Regions from separate parts of the Homo sapiens genome. Here regions 2, 3, 4 and 5 are each linked to region 1. Evidence: promoter capture Hi-C in 16 types of primary human blood cells and fetal thymus (Javierre and others, 2016). All regions are on one chromosome and are shown on one strand. The core of a region is centred on a gene start or on the middle of the fragment in contact, and the rest is flanking DNA. Distances in the headings are between cores, read along the strand shown.

The links. Contacts are between HindIII fragments. The CHiCAGO score rates a contact against its expected background, and 5 or more counts as called.
Region 2: a contact is called between a fragment that was not itself captured here and the fragment with the promoter of ZHX3 in region 1, in 6 of 17 cell types (non-activated CD4 T cells, activated CD4 T cells, naive CD4 T cells and 3 more). The highest score is 11.8, in non-activated CD4 T cells.
Region 3: a contact is called between a fragment that was not itself captured here and the fragment with the promoter of ZHX3 in region 1, in 9 of 17 cell types (total CD8 T cells, non-activated CD4 T cells, activated CD4 T cells and 6 more). The highest score is 12.6, in total CD8 T cells.
Region 4: a fragment that was not itself captured here is called in contact with the fragment with the promoter of ZHX3 in region 1 in 9 of 17 cell types (activated CD4 T cells, total CD8 T cells, total CD4 T cells and 6 more); the score reaches 14.6 in activated CD4 T cells.
Region 5: a contact is called between a fragment that was not itself captured here and the fragment with the promoter of ZHX3 in region 1, in 12 of 17 cell types (naive CD8 T cells, non-activated CD4 T cells, total B cells and 9 more). The highest score is 23.4, in naive CD8 T cells.

What each region holds. Positions count from the first base shown.
Region 1 is chr20:41,315,753-41,320,484 of GRCh38, reverse strand. ZHX3 (zinc fingers and homeoboxes 3) reads left to right here and starts at 2,754. Exons shown (of 4, transcript NM_001384317.1): 1 at 2,754-2,976. RefSeq lists an enhancer at 2,325-2,374 and silencers at 2,485-2,934, 2,945-3,234. The HindIII fragment of the contact is 7,702 bases long and covers 1-4,732 here.
Region 2 is chr20:41,068,728-41,073,459 of GRCh38, reverse strand. All of the region lies in intron 3 of TOP1 (DNA topoisomerase I), which reads right to left. Among named protein-coding and RNA genes, the nearest start is that of TOP1, 42 kb to the right of the region's middle. The HindIII fragment of the contact is 5,680 bases long and covers 1-4,732 here.
Region 3 is chr20:41,087,124-41,091,855 of GRCh38, reverse strand. All of the region lies in intron 8 of TOP1 (DNA topoisomerase I), which reads right to left. Among named protein-coding and RNA genes, the nearest start is that of PLCG1, 48 kb to the left of the region's middle. The HindIII fragment of the contact is 3,822 bases long and covers 974-4,732 here.
Region 4 is chr20:41,112,539-41,117,270 of GRCh38, reverse strand. TOP1 (DNA topoisomerase I) reads right to left here. Exons shown (of 21, transcript NM_003286.4): 14 at 4,346-4,489; 15 at 3,116-3,301; 16 at 1,832-1,900; 17 at 879-993. The region is part of intron 4 of PLCG1-AS1 (PLCG1 antisense RNA 1); the gene reads left to right. Among named protein-coding and RNA genes, the nearest start is that of PLCG1, 23 kb to the left of the region's middle. The HindIII fragment of the contact is 6,477 bases long and covers 1-4,732 here.
Region 5 is chr20:41,148,819-41,153,550 of GRCh38, reverse strand. All of the region lies in intron 1 of PLCG1 (phospholipase C gamma 1), which reads right to left. Among named protein-coding and RNA genes, the nearest start is that of PLCG1-AS1, 13 kb to the right of the region's middle. The HindIII fragment of the contact is 1,108 bases long and covers 2,173-3,280 here.

The DNA.
Region 1 (4,732 bases), core at 1,505-4,004:
GTAAATATCATTTGTGACATACCCCCCAACACTGGTATTAAATGGCTGTTTCTTCTGCCTGGAATCTCTGTCTCAACAACTCTTTAGATGTGGCCCCAAAGTCACCTTTTCTGGGAAGCCTACCCACACTCTCCTGTATATTGTTAATTATGCTATTCTCTGTGCTTCCCAAAGCAGTTGGCACATCCATCTTTGTTACATATTTTCTCCCAGAAGTTTTTTGTTTGTTTGTTTTTGAGACAGAGTTTCGCTCTTGTTGCCCAGGCTGGAGTGTAATGCTGCAAACTCGCTCACTGCAACCTGTGCTTCCCGGGTTCAAGTGATTCTCCTGCCTCAGCCTCCCAAGTAGCTGGGATTACAGGTGCGCCTCACTATGCCTGGCTAATTTTTGTATTTTGAGTAGAGATGGGGTTTCACCATGTTGGTCAGGCTGGTCTCGAACTCCTGACCTCAGATGATTCATCCACCTAAGCCTCCCAAAGTGCTGGGATTACAGGCGTGAGCCACTGTGCCCGGCCAGAAGTATTTTTTTTACATGACTGTTTCCTCTGAAATACTGTTCCTCAAAGGTCGGGAGAATACCTCATTTTTCTCAGGATCCCACTGTGCCTGGATCAAAATAGATGCTCAGAAAAGTTTGTTGAATAAATGAAGTTGTATTGGAGCAGTATAACCTATATACATTCTCATTCATCCCAGAAATACTTATTGAGTACCTGAACATGTCGACCCATGTTCTAGATGTTGAAGATGGGAAAAACAAAGTTCCCACCTTCAGAGATATTATAGATGATATTCAGGTTAGAAGGGCTAGGCAGAAAAGTAAAGCAGGCTTAGAGGATAGTGATTGGAGTTGGGACTTGATACTTTAGTAGAGTGGTCTGGGAAAGTCTGGGGAGGTGACTTTTGAGTAGAAACTTGGAAAGCACACGCCTTTCTGATATCTGGAGGAAGCAACACCAAGTACAGAGGTTCTGAAGTAGAAGTGAGCCTCCATATTCCAGGAGCAAGAAGGAGGCTAGTGTGCCTGGCATGCAATGAGGAGGCCGAGTGGAAGGAGGTGCAGTTAGAGAGGTGGAGAGTATAAGTGGACGAAGGGCAGACACATAGGATCTTGGAAGCCTTTGGGAAAAAAACCACATTTTGGAAATGAAAAAAATAGGTGGGCATGGTGGCGTGCACCTGTAGTCCTAGCTACCTGGGAGGCTGAGGTGGGAGGATTGCTTGAGTTTGGGAGGTTGAGGCTGCAGTGAGCTGTGATGGGGCCACTGCACTCTAACCTGGGAGACAGAGTGAGACTGTGTCCCACTCTCCACCCCACTGCCCCCATATTTTTTTTTTTTTGGCTTTTACTCTGAGATGGGAAACCTTCTGGGGGCTTTTGAGCTTAGGTTTCAACAGGATCCCTCTGGCTTCTGTGTTGAGAGAAGGCACCATGAGAGCACAGTGGAATCGTGGAGAACAGGCAGGAGGCTACTACAATATTCCAGGAAAGAGGAAAAGGGGTATTTTAAAGGTAGAGCTGACAGGCTTTTCTAATGGGTTGCATGTGGGATATGATAGGGAGAGTGGAGTCCAGGATGACTCCAATGGTTTGTCTGGAGTCATCAGAAGAATGGAGTTGACATGAACTGAGGTAGGGAAGGTTGTGAAAGGAGCAAGCTAAGGTGCCACGTATGGGTGTTTGACTATCGACTTGTTTACTTGGACACATCGCTCACACTTGTGTATATGCTCCCTGGTTTTCAGGATCTGAAGGTTCTAAAGTTACTTGAAGTTAAAGGCAGCCTTACTTATTGAACACCAAGCACTGTGCAGAAATCTTTATATGTGGTGTCATTTAACCCTTTTAATATTTCTACTGATTTACTCATGTTTCATTGCCCTTTTACAGTTGAGAGATTAACACGTCCAAAGTCACTCAGACAATTATTAACCTGCTAGATTAATGCAGATCTGGGATTCCCATCCAGGTGTGTCAAGACCGTAGAGCTCCTGCTGTTTACTAATCACTGGATTCTAAAGGTGGGAGCCACTTTCTGAGCATATTTGCTGCAGACTTGGTTCCATAACTAAAAAGGTGCCTGGATCATGTGACGAGAATTCAGGAAAGAACCCAACCCCATCCCAGGCATTACAGGTTATACAACAGCTATGAAGAAAGGACGGTATTAGTGGACTCGAGGAGGCTGACTGATGTTTGAAAGTTCAAGTACTTGAAGACTCAATGTTAAAACAGTGATCAAGAGTTAGTTTTTTTGTTATTATTCTTAAGAAAACAGAAAATATTAAAAATTGCAGTGAACCCTTGGTTGGATAAAAGACCACTCCTAGTCGACGCTTGTTGGGAAACACTGGAATTGGAGGAGTGGGGGCAGACAGGAGCGAGAGCCCCTGCCAGCCTACACACACATCCTTTTGAAAGTGTAACCTGGTGTGACCTTCTTTAAGTGGTCCTCTGGAAAGAGCAGGATATGGAGTACAAAAGCCAGGAACCTCTGGGACCGCAGCATCCGCCCCCAGCGCCTCCTTCCCCGTCTTCTTCAGCCTCCACACGGTGGGGCGGGGAGGAGGGGGGAGGAGGAGTGCTGGCGCATGCGCCGGGGGCAAGGTCCGCTCCCCGCGACGTCAGGGGGCTCGCACCCGCTCGAAAGCCCCGCCCCGCGGCCGCCAGAGGCGACCTGGGCGGACTGGGGGGCCTGGGCCACGCCCCCAGCCGAGTCGAGCAAGGCCGAGGGGAGCCGTGCAAGGCCGAGCAGAGCCGAGCGCCTCCGAGAGCGGCCGAGCCCAGCCGAGCGGCCCGGAGTCGGTTGGTGCAGCTGCGTCCCCGCCGCTCAGCAGTCCGCGGCTCCGGCGTCGCCGCCGCCGCCGCCTCTGCGGGGCCTGCGCCGGCCGCCCGCCCGGCCGCGGGGAGGGAGGCCCGCAGCGCGGGAAGAGCGGCCCGGTCGCGGGCGCCGCCACCGCCGCCGCTGCCAGGTGAGCGCCCGCCACGGCCAGCCGGCCCCGCGTGCCCCCGCGGCTGTCAGTCCCCGGTGTCTGTATCTCTCTCTGCCTGTCAGACCCTGTGTCTGCGCGAGCTCCTTCCCGCCACGCCTGGCCCGCGGCCGGCCCGCAGTCTCAGTCAGCCCCCTCCCGCCGGCTGCCCCTGGTCTTTCTGTCAGCCGCCAGCACCCCCATGCTGAGAGGCTCCGCCCCTTCCCCCCGGAGCCCCGCCCTCCGCCATCTGTCATCACCCCCCGGGCTCCAGGAGCGGGCGTCCAGGGGTCCTAGGGGTCAGGGTAGCCCCGCGTGCCACCATCGTAGAAGGCGCAAAAGGGGGTGGTAGAGGGGAAGCGGGGGCGTTCGCGCAGGCCCGCCTGACCGTGTGAGAGTGCATGCCCGAGTGTGCGTTCCGCGTGTGCACCCGAGAGCCGCCTGCGTCCACGCCCGAGGGCCCTTGCACTCTGCTGGGATGTGGCAGCCCATGCCCCCGGTGTAAAGAGCGTCAGCTCGACCAGTGAAGGCGGCAGAGCCAGGACTCGAACCACTCGGGGTACAGTAGCACCCTGAATCTTGGGACCCTTGTCTGCCCACGCGAAAACACTACACGTGGGCCCCAGGTCCTCGGATTCCCTGAGTGGCGTGTGAGTGGAGTTTGGAGCTTGTTAAGCCTTCCCAGTTTGGGATTTTCATTCAGGGAAGCCTGTTGGAAGTGATTGAGGAGTGGATGGGATGTAGGACTTAGGTGGGGAGTGTTTGAGGGCTTGAGTCATTTTGAGTTGCATGGTTTACATTTCTGAGCAGTGATTGCCCTGGGCTTGTGCCCTGCGAGAAACTTATGTGACTTGGGGTGGGGGAGTGAGGTAGGAAGGAATGCTCCTTTCTGTTTTTATCTATGTGAACACATAGTATATATTTATCCAGATATCCTAAATGTTTATTCATGAGGCGTCCACACGTCCTTAATTTAAAAAAGGATTACAGTAGTTTCCATTTATACACGTTCTTGTGTGTTGTTATCTCAATGCTCTTTATTTGTGGTAACTTAGTATTGCAATATTTCAAAACTAAGAGAAAATGCATCCTAAAACAATTGGTATTTTGCCGGATAATTCTGAACCACGGAGAAGGAGCCAAAAGCGCACTTCATTAGCTGGAACAACTTATTCGAGCTTAATTTGTTTCTAAGAGACATACAGTGGAAAAATCCAGAAGCGCAAAATAGTATCAAAGACACATAGAAAATGAATGAAAAGGGCCCTTCTGTTGCTGCCTTGGAAAGATGGTATCAAAGTTGCTGTAGAGGACAGAGCCACTATGTAATGATCAACATATTAACCAAGTTGGTTTTGTGACCTTGATACATTGAGCGGGGCTTGATTTGTGCAGTGGTTCATGACAGGCAAACATTGCATGGGAAGTGTGGTAATTTTTGGAAAAAAATGTTCCCCATGTTGTTTTGGTTTTTGGTTTTGAGTTTGTTTTTTTTTTTTTCATATTGAAGTAAGATTTCAGACAAGGGAAGTCTCATGGTGGAGTGCTTTTTTCTTTTTAAAGATAACATTAAAAATTACCAAAGTAATTCATGTTTAAGGCAGAAAACTTGAAAAACAAAGAAAAGCATTGCAAACAAAACAAAACAAAAAAAACCCCATAATCCCACAAACCATAGTAAATCACAATTTGGTATTAAGCCTTTTAGCCTTGTTCCCATGTATACGTGTTTTTTCTTACAAAAATGCTATCATACTAC
Region 2 (4,732 bases), core at 921-3,420, 250 kb after region 1:
GATGTTTGGATACCTGAAAGGATAAAAACCTTTGGGGTTGCTTGTTTCTTTTCTTTTCTTTTCTTTCTTTCTTTTTTTTTTTTTTCATTGTCTTCCCATGAAACTATAAATGGCTAATTCAGGAATCTGAATTCAGGAACACTCCATCTTCCTTTAAGTTCCACCTTCCCCTGACCCGTTCTCTTTCTCAGTGAAAGCATTTCTTAGAATGTTAGCCATTTTCACTAGAAAACTGGCTTTCTGAGCCTTTTGGCAATCACAACATAGGTACCTACAAGTGTACATGTAGCCCTGCGGTTTTCAGCTTTGCTGTACATTATCACACCAAACAGAGATCAGGGAAAAGGAATCAACAAATGACAAGGCAAATGAGACATTTGCCAGGAAGCCAAAAGTCAACGATATTTCCTCTGCCTGCTAACCAGAAAGAGATGTATATAGGAAATTCAAAGTTCCTGCTAGAGTAGTAAACCCCTTTGTAGGTCACAATTAATCACAAAAACCAGAATGGGATGAAGCTATCATCCTGACTTTCCAAAGGAAGCCAAGTCTCCTCTACTCCTAACTGTTTAGGCATAAGAGCAGATTTGCATTTTTATACTAGCTGAATACAGATGATTGAGGGTTAAGGACAGCTTCTATTACAGGGCATTACATTGGAGACTGTTAGAAATTTGGGTTTATAGAGCTCCACCAGGCTTCTGAATACAATGTGATCATCCCTACTTGTCAGGTGCTGTTACCGTCCCTGCCTCCACAAATGGAGAGCAGAGTGCCTGGAGCCCAACCTGGCATCCATAACCCCCAAACCGGCAGGAGTGCTGGCAAAGAGCAAACCCCACTGCCAATCTTTCCTAGGAATGTGCCTGAAGGAAGTAGCAAAGGCGCTGGGGAACAAGTCCTATGATACAGAAGCATGTCCAGGGCTGTGCCAGGAAAGTCAGAAACAGGATTTGGCCAGCATATAAAATGGAGTCAATGTGGGGTCAGTCAGGCTGACTCATCCATTTGAGATTTTCTAACATGTATGTCTTTTTCCAAAAGGCTTAGGATATGTTTGACTTTCATGGTAGCTAAAGAACTGTACTTTCCTCATTAACAGTGAAATGATGGAAATTCTGACCAATGCAGAAAGTTCATTTGCTGGCTGCCTGTTTTAAGAGATACTGTATTATCTTCATACTGATCCTGCTACTTTTCCATACACAATAGACACAATATGTCAAAGTCACAAAAGGGCTTTAAAAGTACAATTGTAGGCTATAATATTAGCCAGGTTAGAGGCTGAAAAACAGATGATTAATTACTGAAGAAACTTCAGTAGGGCTAAATTAGAAAAATGCTAGATACCCTGAAAGGATAAAAACCTTCAGGGTTGCCTTTTTTGTCTCCCCATTTTGTCTTCTAAGAGTAGAAGAAAGGCTTAATATCAACCATAGGAAGGAAACCAAAGGTTGGACAAACATATTTTAAGAGTAAGTTTAGTCTGGGATATGCTGAAGGACAAAAATACAGACAGTAGCAGTCCTAGAACTTCTGCAATGGTCACACTTATGGATGAAATATGAATTTACCCCATGGGCATGAGGAACTCTGAACGAGAAAACAACCAATTATTGGCTAGGCATAGATGCTGACTTCTTGGTTCATAGTTTGCATCTGTATGGGGTAAGATTCCAACACACTAGCAGGGACTAGAAAGCAAAAGTCAGCGCTAAAGAGAACAAATGGAAAGATCCAAAGCCACCTTTCCAGAGTGTTCATGCCATGTGTTATGCTTCAATTGGCTGAATTCCACTAAAGAAAAAATAATCTGGCTGGGCGTGGTGGCTCATGCCTGTAATCCTAGCACTTCAGGAGGCCGAGGCGGGCAGATCACCTGAGGTCAGGAGTTCGAGACCAGCCTGGGCAACACAGTGAAACCCCATTTCTACTAAAAATACAAAAATTAGCTGGGCGTGGTGGCACATGCCTGTAATCCCAGCTACTGGGGAGGCTGAGGCAGGAGAATCACTTGAACCAGGGAGACAGAGGCTGCAGTGAGCCGAGATCACGCCACTGCACTCCAGCCTGGCGATAGACTGAGGCTCCATCTCAAAAAAAAAAAAATTTAAAAAAAGGAAAGAAAAAAATAACTTACACTATTTTTAAAGTGATGACAGCAAAACCTTTGGTCTATGATTCTTGTTGGAGCTAAGCAGACCACAGAAAAGGGTGACCAGAGTTTCTCTAAGGCACTTATATAGAAGAGTGGGAGAAACGGTGGAAGTAGGGAGCCAGTAGGGAACAATGTCTCCCTTCTGGCGAAGCACTGTTTCTTTAGGAAAAAAGACCACCGCTACCACAACAAAATACTGATATTCTGGAAAGCTAGAATGTTGGCTATGGGAAACCATTTAAATCTGTCCTCTATCCCCCATAAAAGTATTTAACAGATACTTGAGTAGCACCCAGTGCCAAGCACTCATCTAAGCACATTTGATATCGGTAACAAAACTCAGGTAACTACTGGTATCTTCATTTCACAGATGTGGAAACTGAAGCACAGACAAGTTAAGTAACTCACCCAAGGAACTACCTCTAAAGAGAGAAACAGGATTTAAACTCAGGCAGTCTGGCTCCAGGGTCATGCACTTGACTACTCTGTTACTTCCCAAACAAAGCAAAAAAGCACTGTTAAAGGTAGAAGGAGCCTCCACATATTCTGAGAAAAGGACTTAGCCACTAACAGCCCAGCTACCTGTCTACTCCTCAAGGCAGCAGACCTCTGCAGGTCACATGAAGTTGGATCATGGGGATTCCTGTGAGACAGCACAGAGAGCTTCAAAGTCTTGGTTTAGGAGGGAAACTCATGACCCTTTCAAGGATAGTAGACAGTTAAATCTTAAATGATATTTGTTAAATTAAATATTTAAGTAACTTCAAAAGTTGCCTCTGGGAAAAGAGCGCAGCTTCTGAAATGAGCCAGTTTCCAAAAGGCACTAAGAAACAAGGGTTCCTTAATGTCCATCATCATTACACACTACAATGCCGATTATATATCTCTAAACAAAATCACAAGGACTCCGGCGTTTTATATTATAGAAGTATCAAAACTTCAAGGTAAATGTAATTTCCTAGAAATTATTTAATCCTTTGTTTTCAGGCCAGAGAGGATAAAAGGATGTGCCCAAAGATGGCAAAACCGATACCCATTCTAACTCCCATTCCTCCCTTAAGTTCTTTGTCTCTATTAATAGCGTGAACAGCCACCCAGTTATCCAAGACAGGAACCCTTTTTCTTAGACCCTTCATGTCATTTGTAGCTAAGTCTTATATCCACTTTGCTCAAGTATTTCCAGTGGCTTCTTGCTCAGCTCAGAATCGAGTCCCAACATTTCCCCCCGATTTTTAGTTAGTGTAAGTAACAAGTTCCAACTTTTTGAAATGGCATTTAATAGTTTTGCCTCAAGCCACTTTTTTGGGTCTCATTTTCTACTATTCCACCCTGTGTAACCCACCTAACTAGATTCCTCCCAGAACAAAGCATATACTACAATGCCTCTATGTTTTGCTTATGTTTTTCTTTCTAACCATTACTTTCCGTTAGCAAAATTTTAACCATCTTTGAATGGCTAGCTCAAATGCTGTCTCCACCATGAAATCTTAAAAACAATGATTATGGCGTACTATGATAGGGATAAATATAATATTGAAAATATCAGGGCTCCAAATTGAATGCTATCAATAACTACTGAATTAGATTCAACTACCAAACTCAAGAGCTCCAATTTATCTGCATGATATTATACTAGGCTTTGCGGTAATTATCATCATCACCATCATTATCTCAATTATTTAGTATGTTACAGTTCCCAAAGAGCTGTCATGTGCATAAACAAACTTGAAAGATTGATAAAGCAGGTACTGTTATCAACCCTTGACCAAAACAGAAAATGAGACCCAGAGAAGTTAAGCACCTTGGATCACGACACGTAGCTTATAAATGACAGAACCCAGCCTCTTAACTTTTATCTTAGTGTGCTATTCAATATATCATACTGACTCCCATGTGAATGGTGGTGGTACTGAGTTTCCTCATTTCCAAACTGTTCAATCTTCTCTGCCTACCCATGTTAGTTGTCCATTTCCCACAGACAGGATGATATAGTGATGTGTAGACAAAGGGAGGGCTTTGGCAAACCACTCACAAGGAAAGCAGCAAACATATCTTTTAAATTTTATTAATTTCAGAAAAATCTCCCCTAATCTGAGAACTAGATGCGTAATTCAAGTGCATATTCCTAAAATCCTACATTCTCTCAATTACAATTCAGGTAGGATTTGGAACTAAAAGGAAAGCAGAAGCCAAAAGCATCCTTATTCTCAGATGTTTCTCACACTGACAGTACAGAATAGCACTGCCAATATGGCTGGAAAAGTACTTCCCTTGCTATTTTACAGCAGTTTTCTGTCTTCCCTTGCTTTCCACAAATTTGTCACTCCAGTGTGAATGCCAGGTTTAAAATTGGCAAGAGATGCACAGAGTCGAAAACTAGGAGGAATTTCATTTCACACGATTCTCTTATTTTCTAAAATCAAGCCCCCCTCCCAAATTGCTTTTAATAATATTCTGTTTATACAAGAGATCTACTATTAAAGATAAACAATGGATAAGAATGTAACCCTTTAAGAAAGGTAGCTCGTGAGATCCTACAAGCTACGTAATTCCTTGGCATCTAGAAGAGTATTC
Region 3 (4,732 bases), core at 1,635-4,134, 230 kb after region 1:
AACACCATATACGCCTGTAATCCCAGCACTTTGGGAGGCCGAGGCGGGCAGATCACGAGGTCAGGAGGTCGTGATCCAGGTCAGGAGCCTGGGCAATGTGGTGAAACTCCGTCTCTACTAAAAATACAAAAATTAGCTGGGCATGGTGGCGCGCACCTGTAGTCCCAGCTGCTCAGGAGGCTGAGGCACGAGAATTGCTTGAACCCAGGAGGCAGAGGTTGCAGTGAGCCAAGATTGTGCCACTGCACTCCAGCCTGGGCAACAGAGTGAGACTCCATCTCAAAAAAAAAAAAAAAAAAAAAAGGTTAATAATTTGCTACATTTCCTATTTTGGCCGAACCATTTTCAAAGTTGGTTGCAGATTTGATACTTCACCACTAAATATTTCAGCAAGTATCTCTATAAAAATAATATTCTTCCACATAACCACAAAACTATTATCACATCTAACAAAATAATCTCCTAGTATAATTCTAATTCCCAGTCCATATTAAAAACTTCCCTATTTTATCTAAATTTATTTTATAGACCAGGATCCAACTCAGGCTCACAAATTGCAACTGGCTATGCCTCAAGTTTCTTTTACTCGAATAGATAACTAACTTACTACCCTCATATTTACTTTCCAAGTACAATATTTTATTTATTATTTTATTATCAATCATTCAGCCATGGAACAAGTCCAATATTTTAAACAAAGTTCAGAAACATCAAATAAAAATTACATGTATCAAACCATATTGTAACAATGGTATTACTATAAAACCAAAGTCAACATATATGGTCAAATGATTTACAACAAGATGCTTAAGACCATTCAATGGAGAAAGAACAGTTTTTTCAACAATAGTGTTGGCAAAATAATCAAACTGGGTCTTTACATTATACACAAAAATTAATTCAAAATGGATCAAAGACCTAAATATAAGAGCAAAAATATAAAACTCTTAGAAGACAACATAGGGGAAAAGCTTCACAATATTGGATTTGACAGTGATTTATTGGATATGACACGTAAAACACAGGTAACAAAAAGAATAAATGAATTGCAGCTGGGCAGAGTACCTCACACCTGTAATCTCCGCACTTTGGGAGGCTGGGGTGGGCGGATCACTTGAGGACAAGAGTTCGAGACCAGCCTGGCCAACATGGCGAGACCCCCCCGTCTCTACTAAAAATACAAAAATTATCCAGGCATGGGGGCATACGCCTGTAATCCCAGCTACTCAGGAGACTGAGACACAAGAATCGTTTGAACCTGGGAGGTGAAGGTTGCAGTGAGCCGAGATCACGTGACTGCACTCCAGCCTGGGCAACAGAGAGACACTCTGTCTCAATAAATAAATAAACTGAACTTCACTGAACTTAAAAACTTCTGTGCATCAAAGGACACTTCAAGAGAGTGAAAGACAACTCACAGAATAGGAGAAAATATTTGTAAATCATGTATCTGATAAAGGGTTAACATACAAAATATATAAACAGCTCCTACATCTCAATAAACAACCCAATTAAAAAAATGGGCAAAGTCTCAGTCTTAAGGTGGAGGGGAAAAAAAAGATAAAATTAAAAATAGGGGCTGGGCGCAGTGGCTCACGCCTGTAATCCCAATACTTTGGGAGGCCAAAGCGGGCGGAGGGATCACTTGAGGTCAGGAGTTCGAGACCAGCCTGGCCAACATGGCAAAACTCTGTATCTATTAAAAATTCAAAAAATTAGCCAGGCGTGGTGGTGCACGCCTGTAATCTCAGCTACTCAGGAGGCTGAGGCATGAGAATCACTTGAACCTGGGAGGCAGATGTTGCAGTGAGCCAAGATTGCGCCACTGCACTCCAGCCTGGGCGACAGAGCAAGACTCCATCTCAAAAACAAAAAAAAACACGTGGGGGTGGGGCAAAGAACTTGAATGGTCATTTTTCTAAAGAAGATATACAAGTGGCCAATAAGCACCTGCAAAAATATGCAACATCAATAATCATTAGGAAAATACCAATCAAAACCACAATGAGATACCATTCATACTCATAAGGATGGCAATAAAACAAAAAATAACAAGTGTTGGTGAAGGTGTAGGGAAGCTAGCACCCTCGTGTGGTCCTGGTAGGAACGTAAAAAGGTGCAGCCAATGTGGAAAAGATAGTATGGCAGTTCCTCAAAAAGTTAAGCACAGAAATGCCACATGACCCAGCAATTCCATTCCCAGGAATATACTCAATATTCAAACAAATACTTGTACACGAATGTTTCACAGCAGCACTATCTGCAACAGCCAAAGGCAGAAATAACCCATGTCCATCAAAAGATGAATGAATAAACAAAATGCAGGACAAACAATGGAATATTATTTAGCCTTTAAAAGTCAGAAAATTCTGAAACATGCTACAATATGGACGAGCGTTGACATTCTGTTAAGTGAAATGAGTCAGTCACAAAGGACAAATACTGTATGACTATTAATACAAGGTACCTAAAGTAGTCAAATTCATAGAGACAGAAAGTAGAATGGTGCTTACCAAGAACTGGGGGAATAGGCTGGGCACGGTGGCTCACGCCTGTAATCCCAGCACTTTGGGAGGCCAAGGCGGGCAGATCATCTGAGGTCTGGAGTTTGAGACCAGCCTGGCCAACATGGCGAAACCCCGTCTCTACCAAAAATATAAAAAATTAGCCGGGAATGGTGGTGGGAGCCTGTAATCCCAGCTACTTGGGAGGCTGAGGCAGGAGAATTGCTTGAACCCAGGAGGCGAAGGTTGCAGTGAACTGAGATCACACCACTGCACTCCAACCTGGGCGACAGAGCGAGACTCTGTCTCAAAAAAAAAAAAAAAAAAAAAAGAACTGGGGCAACAGAGAAGTGGGGAATTGTTAATAACTACAGAGTTTCAGTTTTGCAAGATGTAGAGTTCTGGAGATGGTGATGGTGCACAACAATATGAATGTACTTAATGCCACCGAATTGTACACTTAAAAATGGTTAAGATGATAAATGTTATGTCATATGTATTTTACACAATTTAAACAAAAATATTTAACAGAATCTTAGACCTCAAAGGAATATTAAAGATCTTCTATAACTAACCTACCACTTTTTCAGGTATGAAATTGGCAGAGTCATTGATATATTAATAGAAGGATCTCAATGCAGGAAACCACCCAATCCTACAGTCTATTACTCTCCAAATAGAGAAAATATATATATATGTAGGTGTATGAGAGCATCTGCAAGGAGCCTGTCTGCAGCAGTCACAGAGTAACCGTGAGGAGATTCCGAACGCCACCCTTTCCCTTATCCTGGGACTTTGGCACCATTCTTCTCATCGACTACAGTGTTTTTATTTATTTATTTATTTTTTGAGACAGAGTCTCGCTCTGTCGCCCAGGCTGGAGTGCAGTCGCGTGATCTCCGCTCACTGCAAGCTCCACCTCCAGGGTTCACACCATTCTCGCGCCTCAGCCTCCTGAGTACCTGGGGACGACAGGTGCCCGCCACCACGCCCAGCTAATTTTGTTTTTGTATTTTTAGCAGAGACAGGGTTTCACCATGTTAGCCAGGATGGTCTCGATCTACTGACCTCGTGATCTGCCCGCTTCGGCCTTCCAAAGTGCTGGGATTACAGGCGTGAGCCACCACGCCCGGCCCTACAGTGTTTTTAAATCAAGACTCCAAACTGTTTTTACGACTCCTATTTCAACATGTGTATCCTGAAGACCCACAGCAACTTCTTTACCATTTAAGCAAATTAAGAGATTCAGCAAATCACAACACTAAACTTCAGTTTAAACAGAAAGACAGAATATCTGTTTCAGTAAGCTCATGTGACTGGGCTGACAGCTATTATTATACAAATAAAAGCAAACAGTTCTGTCCTTTTAGCCTCCCCATGAGTGCATATATCCGCCCCCCGCAATTTAAAAACAAATAAACAAACAAAAACATGTACTTAGACATCGAAATGGCTTCCCTTTGGCAGCTTGACTTGAATAATCAAGTACCAATTTAATAATAAAATTTGCTTGAAGGGGGAAAGGTGGAAAAGTGCTAGAAATATAAAGACAGGAAAGTAAACTCCATGTGCTGTTTGATATCAAGTTCCCTTGCAGTTAACAAGCACTTCACAGTATGCTATAAAACTCATATTTAATTTTTTTAAATTTAGAAATAAAGGTCAGATGCTGTAGCTTCTGAATGCTAATCCTTGAAATTAAGGGAAGTTTTTCTGGTTTGAGCAAAATGTCAATAATCCATATTCCATAAATTTCTTACCACTATCATTGACCATATATTTATGAGTCTTGGTCTTGCAACACTAATTCCTTAAAACATTATAGTCCTGACTCATCACAGCATTTTACCTTTGCTAAGAGATTGAAAACTCCATTTAAAGTCACACCTAACACCTGCAATAAACTCGCCAGGTAATTCTTTATGAAGAATCATCTGTTGAGAATTAACTGGCAACTTATATTCCCAGGTCAGCCCTGACACAAAAGTGTACTTAATTAACCCAACAGTGCTGAAACCCTGTTCAGCTACAATGGCCAACAGTTAAAAATCAGGACATCTGGGATAAACAGGATTTCATGTATGAACCCAAGCACACTGCCACCACTTATAACAATGTTTCTATGGAGATAACGTGATATAGCAAAGAAACCCTGAGGGACCTGGACCTTTTCCAACTGAACAATTACCAAAGGAGGGAGATAAAGATCAGAGTAAGTGGTTTTTTCT
Region 4 (4,732 bases), core at 1,299-3,798, 200 kb after region 1:
CCTAAACTCCTGGGCTCAGCCTCCCAGGTAGCTGGGATGACAGGTGCACACCGCCACACCTGCCTAATTTTTAGAAATTTTAGTAGAGACAAGGTCTCACTACATTGCCCAGGCTGGTCTGGAACTCCTGGGTTCAAGTGATTCTCCTGCCTCGGCTACCCAAGTGTTGGGATTACAGGTGTGAGCCACTGCACATGGCCTGGTAGTATCTTATTTAAAAAGAAAAATTAAAAATGCCATCCAAAAAAATTGTTTTTATTTGTATAGTGTGGCATTCTTTATACCACCTTAAAATACTGACCCTCAACATACCTACCTCTGGCTTTTCTGGTTCATATTCTAAGGCCATCTGATGTATTTACAGAGGGCAGTGGAAATTCAATAGTGACTGGGCTCCAGGAAAAAAAAAGCCCGTGGATCTTGGTGATAATATTCTAAAAATCAGCTATAGAAAGTATCTACTCTCTTATGGGAAAAAAATGACAGAAACCTCAAGGAAAGGACTTGTTCCTGTATTTTTCTGGTAACCATGACAACTTTACTCTCTCCAATTTAACAGAACATCACAGCACTGTCTTCACTCTGTGGGCTTTTAAGTAATATATGTATAAAACACAAATGCAGGCATTTTTGTAGCAGGTGAAAAGCTGTCAGCATTCCATGAAATTAATCTTGAAGTTGGGGTGGGAAGGGGGAAACAGCATTGATCCTATGTTTATACAACAAAGCATTATCTCGCTACTAGAGGTCTAAAGGGAAAAAGTGTCTGACCACAATGGTAGGGAAAAAAAGTAGAACTGACTCTAGGCCTTAGATAAGCAAGGTCACCGGATACCATTAGTAGGGGTGTGGGCCCTATCTGGCCAAGCAATACTTACGGGCTGTCAGTTCTTTTAGCTGCTGCTGTAGCGTGATGGAGGCATTGTATGTACGGAATACCTTGGCTGTCAAGCCCTCCATGAGATCCTGAAGATGCTTATTCAGAATACCAGTCTGGAGGAGACAAAGCAACAGATTTAGGTCAAAGCTATACTACCTGCTCCTTCTGGCAGCCCTAGGAGTAATTTATGCCAGTGCAGTCACAATCTTGTCAAGTTTATTGCCCTACAAGTGGGAAGTTAGGGAAAGAGGAAAAGAATTCCAGAATACAGGGTTACATGATGCCTCTCTATGAAGTATTTCAATCTTTGTGTGTGTGTATGACAGGGTCTCACTCTGACACCCAGCCTGGAGTGCAGTGGTACAATCTCGGTTCACTGCTGCCTCCACCTCCCGGGCTCATGCAATCCTTCTGAGGCTCCTAAGCAGCTGGGACTACAGGTGTGGACTACCACACCTGGATAATGGTTTTGCCATGTTGCCCAGGCTGGTCTCAAACTCCTGACCTCAAGGGATCTGCCCTACTTGACCTCTCAAAGTGCTGGGATAACAGGCGTAAGCCACCAAGCCTGGCCCAGGTTGGTGGGCTTAACAAACCAATAAAGCAAATTTTTCCTTCCCTATTAAGATATCAGGGACAGGTTTTGGGTCTCCAGCAGGGGTGGCTGGGCATTCAGTGAAGGGAAAGCTCTGCAGGAGCAGGGAAGGATAAAAGGTAGGGCTCATCTACCCCCCACCCTGAGTGCTTTAGCAGTTGTTCTGCAGCAGATGTGTCTTCTCTTGACTACAGATTCACCGTGGACTCAGAGGGAGGAAGAGAGAGTGTATGGGATGCCACAGAGCAGGCCAGGCTAAAGGGAGAGCCCAAGTCATCTGCCAGCAACCCTCCCCTTTAGGTACTGTGAGGCTCTGGCTGGGACTCCCTTCAACATTGTGTGCTTCATCTACTCACATTGAGTCTATCAAAAAGATCATCCTCGGGCTGCTTGTTCTCCATAAATAGTTGTAGGTTCTTAAAAACCTAAAAGATATAAGTGAATCCTAATTATTACTCTTGAAAAAAATCCTAACTTTAGAAATAACCCCAAACTTAAAGAAACTTGCAAAGAAAAAGGCACAAGGAACACGCATACATCCGTCACCGAGATTCACTGTTAACATTTTACCCCATTCATCATTTGCACAGTGTGCATGTATGCTCACTCTCTCCATGTGTATATTTACAGATATATATACATAATTGTTTGTTCTGAGCCATTTATAAGCACTTACTTATAATATGGTCCTAAAGTACATTTATAAGTACTTACTTATAATATGGTCCTAAAGTACATTTATAAGTACTTACTTATAATATGGTCCTAAACATTTCAGTGTGTATGTTCTAAAAATAGATATTCCCTTACATTTACACAGTATCAGCTTCAAAAATTTACATTGATACATACTGTTATCTAATCTGTCCAGAGTACTTCCACAGCCAGCAAAACCTGATTACTGATTATGGTGTCCTTATGAGAAGAGGTGTCTTTATAAGAAGAGGACTGCTGGTGGGCTGGATTATTAGGATCCTGCACACTGTAAGTCTCTGGTTCAAGCCCAATACTATGGAAAAGATTAGGTTGGGACTACAGAGCTATAGTACCCTCTTCAGTGATGGGCTCAGAGATCTGGGGACTAACATTAACCTTTCACTCAGTCAGGAGTTGGAGAAAGGCTGAGCAAAGATGAAAAGTGACAAATGTACCACATGACCAGGGGATACTAAGATATAGTTAAATCATATGCTGAGTTTGCTCTAAGGGCCTATTCTACAGCATGCTCCATTGAATACTGCTATAGGAGAAGGCCACTCCTTACCAGGAAGGTAGCACAGGGCGGAACAGTGACTAAAAGGAGGTACACAAGATATCAAATAATACCTCTCCCCTCTTTCAAGTCATTTATTTTTATTTATTTTAATATGAGAGGCAAGGTCTCACTATTTTGCCCAGGCTGGAGTACAGTGGCTATTCACAGGTGTGATCACAGCACACTACAGCCTCAAACTTTTGGTCTCCAGTGATCCTCCTGTCTCAGCCTTCTGAATAGCTGGGTCTACAGGCATGTGCCATGTTGCCTGTCTCAAGTCACTTTTGCTGGTGCCCAGCAAAGTGCAAAGCACACAAAAAAGCAGTCAACCCATGCTTGTTGAATAATGGAAAACAAGTCAGACAGTACAGGTACATTAACTTACTCGTTTCTCAACAGGGACCTTGTTATAGTATCTGATGGAGTCCTTCCCGAGGAAGTCAAACTCTACCACATATTCCTGACCATCCAACTCTGGGTGTAGATTGATGTGCTCCACACGAAGTGAGCAGCAGCCCACAGTGTCCGCTGTTTCTCCTTCCTCCTTTTCATTGCCTGCTCTCAGAGCAAGCTGCCCAGGAAAGAAAGAAAAGATGAGCATGAATGGAAGAGACATGATCCTTACACAATTTCGTTCTGTGTTTTTTTTTTTTTTTTTTTTGAGACAGTCTCGCTCTGTCGCCAGGCTAGAGTGCAATGGCGCAATTTTGGCTCACTGCAAGCTCCGTCTCCCGGGTTCATGCCATTCTCCTGCCTCAGCCTCCGAAGTAGCTGGGACTACAGGCGCCCGCCACCACGCCAATTTTTATTTTTTTTTTTTTTTTTGTATTTTTAGTAGAGATGGGGTTTCACCACATTGGCCAGGATGGTCTCTTGACCTCGTGTTCCACCTGCCTTGGCCTCCCAAAGTGCTGGGATTACAGGCGTGAGCCACTGCGCCCAGCCTTTTGACCCTTATGCAATTTCTAGGCATCCAAAACAGAAGCCTCCCAATTCTGTTTGAAGCCACAGCATCAGTCAGCATGGCCTGGGAACTCTGGATTCTGCAGTGTTACTTCCTCCCCCACTCACTATGAAATCTATAGGGATGTTAAATATTCATGCTCCTTTTCTTTCTATTCTGTCCTCTGAAATAGGGATGGAGAAAAGGAAAAAAAAAATTAAATAAGGCAGCAAATGAGGGAGTGCTGCTACTCTGGGCAATCAAACTCAAAAAGCTAGTGTGAATTTTGAGACAATTCAGAACTTATGTTAAAATACAAGACTGGGGGAAAAACATGAACTTTTTTTTCTTCTCGTGAGTACCAAGAAATTGATCTCCTCTAGAGCGTGGTCTTTAAAACTATATAATGGTGATACCTGCATGGTTTATTTAAACAATTTTATAAGTTATAACCAACTTTCTAAAGGAATGAAATAGAGTTAAAAAAAGATCAGAATCTACTGCTCACAGTAAGGCTAAGCATTGTTTTGTGCAACTTTTGATTCAGTTTTACATACAAATATATGTATGTTGAGTTGTGATATACAGTATGTGGCACAGGGCCTGGGGCAGAGCAGAAACTCCCTTTGTTAAGCTCAACACTAGACAATGCCGATGGGAAGATGCTCTCACCTTGTCGATGAAGTACAGGGCTACAGCTCTCTGCCGGACTTTCATCTCTTTGGACTTCCAGTCTTCTCGATACTGGTTCCGGATCTTGTCCACACATTTTTTCAGCCGCCGAGCAGTCTCGTATTTCTGCCAGTCCTTCTCACCCTGTAAAGACCCAAACCCAAATGTAGATTACTTTGGGACAGTGTAGTAAAGACAGACTTTGAATATAGCCAGGCAAGGTGGCGCAAGCCTATAATCCCAGCTAGCTAATAGGGAGGCTAAGACACAAGAATTGCTTGAACGCAGGAGGCAGAGGTTGCAGTGAGCCAAGATCACGCCACTGCACTCCACCATGGGTGACAAAGCAAGACTTTGAACAAAAGAGCAGGAACTTGACCTTAAGCA
Region 5 (4,732 bases), core at 1,477-3,976, 170 kb after region 1:
GAGGCAAGAGGACTGCTTGAGGCCAGGAGTTCAAGACCCATCTGGGTAACAGAGGAAGACCCCACCTCTGCAAAAAATAAAAATTAAAAAAACTTAGCTAGACATGGTAGCACATGCCTGTAGTCCCAGCTACTTGGGAGGCGGTGGGAAAGATCACTTGAGCCCAAGGGTTTGAGGCTGCAGATGAGTAGGAAGCTCTATGAGCTATGATCACAGTACTGTACTCCAGCCTGGCCAACAAAGCGAGATCCTTTCTCTAAAAACACAAAACAAAAACACAAAACCCAAAGTGTGTAAGCTAATTGATGTAAATGGTAGCAAAAACTATCCATTTAAACATGCATGGAGTAAAGAAATTTTGTAACTTAAAAAAACTGCAACTCATAGTAAATATGAAAGGTCTCTTTAAAATCTAAAGAGCTTGAAAGAGGTAAGCGAAGATTTCCTGGACAGGTTCCTTCCCTTCTGGGGGTTTTTACTACCCCCACCTGTGGCCTGTGGACCCCAGAACCCCTCAAGGCCTGTGTGCCCCACTCTGCAGAGGGCACTGGAGGAAGGCAGGGAAAGCCCAGCCCTCCTCAAAAGGGTCCAAGTCCAATTAACACAACACAGACACCAGCCCATGTCTCCCCATACTCCTTCCTGCCTCAGCCTTTGCACAAGCCACTCCTACCTCCTCACTTAAGCCCCCACCAGGCCCAGGCCAGGGGCACACTAGGTGCCCCCTCCTCTCTTGTGTGTCACCACTTGTCACACCTGCTGGTGCTTCCCTGGTGTCTTAGGCCACTGGCCTATGAGCTCCTCCAAGGAAGAAACCACATTTGACTCTTCTCTCCATTCCCTACCAGTCCAACACAAACCCAGGGCCTGGGGAGGCCTCAAAATGTTCAGAGTACTTAAGAGCAGGAGTAAACACATGGGAGTTAGATTCCAGAGCTAATTATCTAACAGGCAGCAAAGGCCACAGATGCTCAAAAATGGTACCAGAAAGATGGTATCAAGGATGGCTTCCTGGAAGAGGTGGCACAGTGGGCCACAGAGGCTGAGGGGCTACAACAAATACTGAAAATGCAGTGGTCAGTGAGGTAACAACGGGAACAGAAAAAGCAGCAGCAGGCATAGTTGGGGGGAATGTGACCCCTGGGGGCAAATACAGTCTGGAAACACTGGGAAGTCCTTACATAAAGATTCCTATAGCCAGTGGGAACCACGGGAAGCTAACAGAGCTTTGGGAAAAACAGTAAAAGCAGCAGGATGCCGAGCACCCACGCCCTGCTGGGCCCGAAGCCAAGACCATGAGGAGATTCAGGAGAGTGGTCCCAGGGGTCAGAAGAGGTGTGTAGATCTCCAAAATGACCTCTCACCAATCACCCTCTCCACATGTAGTCTGTGGCAAACAGATGAGTCCCTCCCAGTTCCCCACTCCCATACCAAAGAAAATACACAGCCAGGACCTAGGAGAGCATTAATGGAGCTAAGCCTTCTCCACCAGAGGATGCTGAAAGATGGACAAAGAAAAGTTCCAGCAGAAGTGAGTATCATCTGGGCCACTTCTGGCCCCCTACCTCAGTCACCCCATCCCCAGGTTCCTATACAACTCCCTGTGGGGTACGGCAGGCACTGCACTGCAGATCCCCCTTCACAGGCAGCCAGAGGCACAGGGGCTCTGCACCCATCAGGACCATACGGCTTTGGCAAGGTTTTTGCAGCTCTGAAGGAAAAGGATGGAGGTAGCCAAAGAAGAGACAAAGATAGGACCTGGACACAGGTGGGAAGGAAGCCTGATGCAATAGTAGCCAGGTCACAGGATGGTCAGCATTTCCAAGCTGGCTGCATATGCCCAAAGCCTGTGGAAAGGGTGAGAGTTCTCCTCTCCCTCTCATTCCTCCCTCTTCCTGAGACTATAATATTCCTCCTCCTGCCTCTCAGTAGAAACATACTCACAAATCTGAGGTTTCCCTGAGCACATCTGGCTGCCACCAAAGGAAGGTCAAAGTGGAGGGGTGGGTAGCTATCCCTTTCCATTTTACAAACAAGGATCTGGGTTCAGGGACTTCTGAGGTCACAGGGTTATATGGCAAAGGGAAGGCGATGGTGGGGCTTACTGTCCTTCCCATTACTGTGCAGCAGCTGCCTTCAAACCAGACCCGCGGGCAGCGAGTTGGACAAGCTTGGTCTAGATTCTAGACAAATCTCTTTGAAACAATGAGGAAACAGAGGGTCCAAAGGGTCTTGTCATGGTCATATGGTGAGTCATGGCAGAACTGGGACACTCTGCAGTGTCCCCACAGCAGCTGCTATCCCTGACACTGGGTATACAGAGAAACACAGAGCAGCCACAGCCAGCCTTTGTACCATCCAGGCAGGCAGCCCTCTTCCCTAGGACTCTAAATTAATCTCACCTATTTCAGAGGTAAGAACAGAATCCAAAGGAAGGAAGGGAAAGGAGGTCCCACCCAGAGAAATTAAAGCTGGAAGAGCACTCAGCAGTGATCTATTCGGCTTATGCAGTCATTCATTCCATCATCTGATCAAACATTTATCGGGCATCTATCTACTCCATGTCAGGCCCTGGGCTGGGTCCTAGGGAAACAGAGATCAATAAGGCATTTGAGTTCCTGCCTTTGAGAAAACCCCTGCCTGATGGAGGAAACAGATGGGGAAGCAGATAACTATGAGGTCATGCAACGAGTAGAACAACAGGGAGGTGTCTGTGGAGCTGAGTGTGTGTAGAGCAATGTCTTGGAGTGCTCTGTAAAAGCCAGGTCTGGAGGGCTGACAAGCACACATTGGGCAGAGGGGTTCATGGAAACCAAGACAGAGGTGCAGGAGTCCACTAAGTTCCACAAACAGGGCATTCAGAGTATCATGGATGAGAAGGGAGGGAAGATGGCCTATACCAAGCCTTGACTGCCACAGTAGGGAAAGGTGGCTTTCCCCAACTTTTCTGCACAAGCCCAGAAGATTCTCCAGGCAGCCATGGGTCAGCCTCTGTGTCAGGAGTCTAGTGTGCTCCAAACTCTGCCTCCCTTGCAGACTGATGCTGCCTAAGTTCTTTCTAGATGGCCTGTGTATGCCAGGCTCCTAGCTACAGGAGAGAGACTGGGGACCCACCAGGGCCATGTCTCAGGGATGCCCAGGACCTCAAAAGTCCCTCATAAAATGCTCCCCCACATAGTACACTCAGGCTACTTGGAGAACCAGAGCAATGGGTATAAGTCACTTTTAAAATTTTTCTTTATATTTTATAGAGATGGGGTCTCACTATGTTGCCCAAGCTTGTCTCAAACTCCTGGCCTCAAGTGATCCTCTCACTTCGGCCTCCCAAAGTGCTGGGATTACAGGTGTGAGCCACCATGCCTGGCCCATAAGTCACTCTGTTGTCCAGGCTGGAGTGCAGTGGCACCAACAGGGCTCACTGTAGCCTCTACCTCCCCAGGTGCAGGTGATCCTCCCACCTTGGCCTTTCAGGTAGCTGGGACTACAGGCAAACCACAACGCCAGGCTGATTATATTTTTTGCAGAGATGGTGTTTTGCCATGTTGCCCAGGCTGTTCTTGAACTCCTGGGCTCAAATGACTCGCCAGTCTTGGCCTCCCAAAGAGCTGGGATTACAGGCATGAATCACCGTGCCTGACCCATAAATCACTTATCTATGGTCCTCCTTCCTGACACCTCAGAGCAATCAACATGGTTGATCACGCCCTCTCTCCTTGAAGCTCTGCCCTTGATTTCTCCTGCACAACCTTGCCTGGTTTTCATGCTTCTTTGTGCGCTACAGGCCTACCTGCATTTAGCAATGGCCTTGGTCAAGGCTCAGGTCAAGGTCCTCTCTTCCGGTGCTCTGCCTTCTTCCTCATCAGTGTCAGCCATGCCCACACCCTTAATTACCTCCTATGTACAGATAATTCACAAACAGGTCTCTAGCCTAGTCCTCTCCTCTTAAGCTTCAGATCCTTCAATTCAGCTGCCTACTTGCTATCCCCACTCTTCATCTCAAAACGTCTCAAAGACAACTCCTCAAAACCAAACACTGTCTTCTCTCTCTCACCAGAACCAAGGCCTCTTGCCATACCCCCTGGGTCAGCTAAGAGCATCACCATTCAAACAGGTACCCAAACTCCAAACTTCAGAATGATCCTTCGCATCTCCTTTTCTCTCACCAGCCCCCAATCCAGCCCTCTGAGAAGTCCCACTGGCTTTATTATTCAAAATTAACCATACGTTCTGAGCACCTACATGAGAGACATTAAACTAGATACTTGGAATACAAGTACCTCAAGGAGCTTGAATGTGGAAGGAAAAATTAGATATGAGTATTATGCTAGATAGCTTACGTTAGAGTCCACAGACAAATACTATAAGAAGCTGAGAAGTAGAGGATGAAGTAGTTACTACCTCTGCTGGGTGGGAAGAGACGATGAGCAACAGCAGCATCTGGCATCCTAACACTAATTTCTTGCATATTTACTTTGCATAGACATTGCATAAAGCTCTTGATAAGACTGCCTTACAACGATAAAAACTGCCTTATATTTTATACTTGCAAATAACACTATGAAGTAAGTATTAGGGTCCCCAATTCCCGAGTGAGGAAATTGAGCACAAAGAGGTTAATTAACTTACCTAAGGTGGCAGTTGGTGAGTGGCAAAGCCAACAATACTTCAAAGCCAAGACTGCCTGTACCCTAGACGTGTGCTCTGTAATGCCTCAGAATCCTTGTTGGAAGTG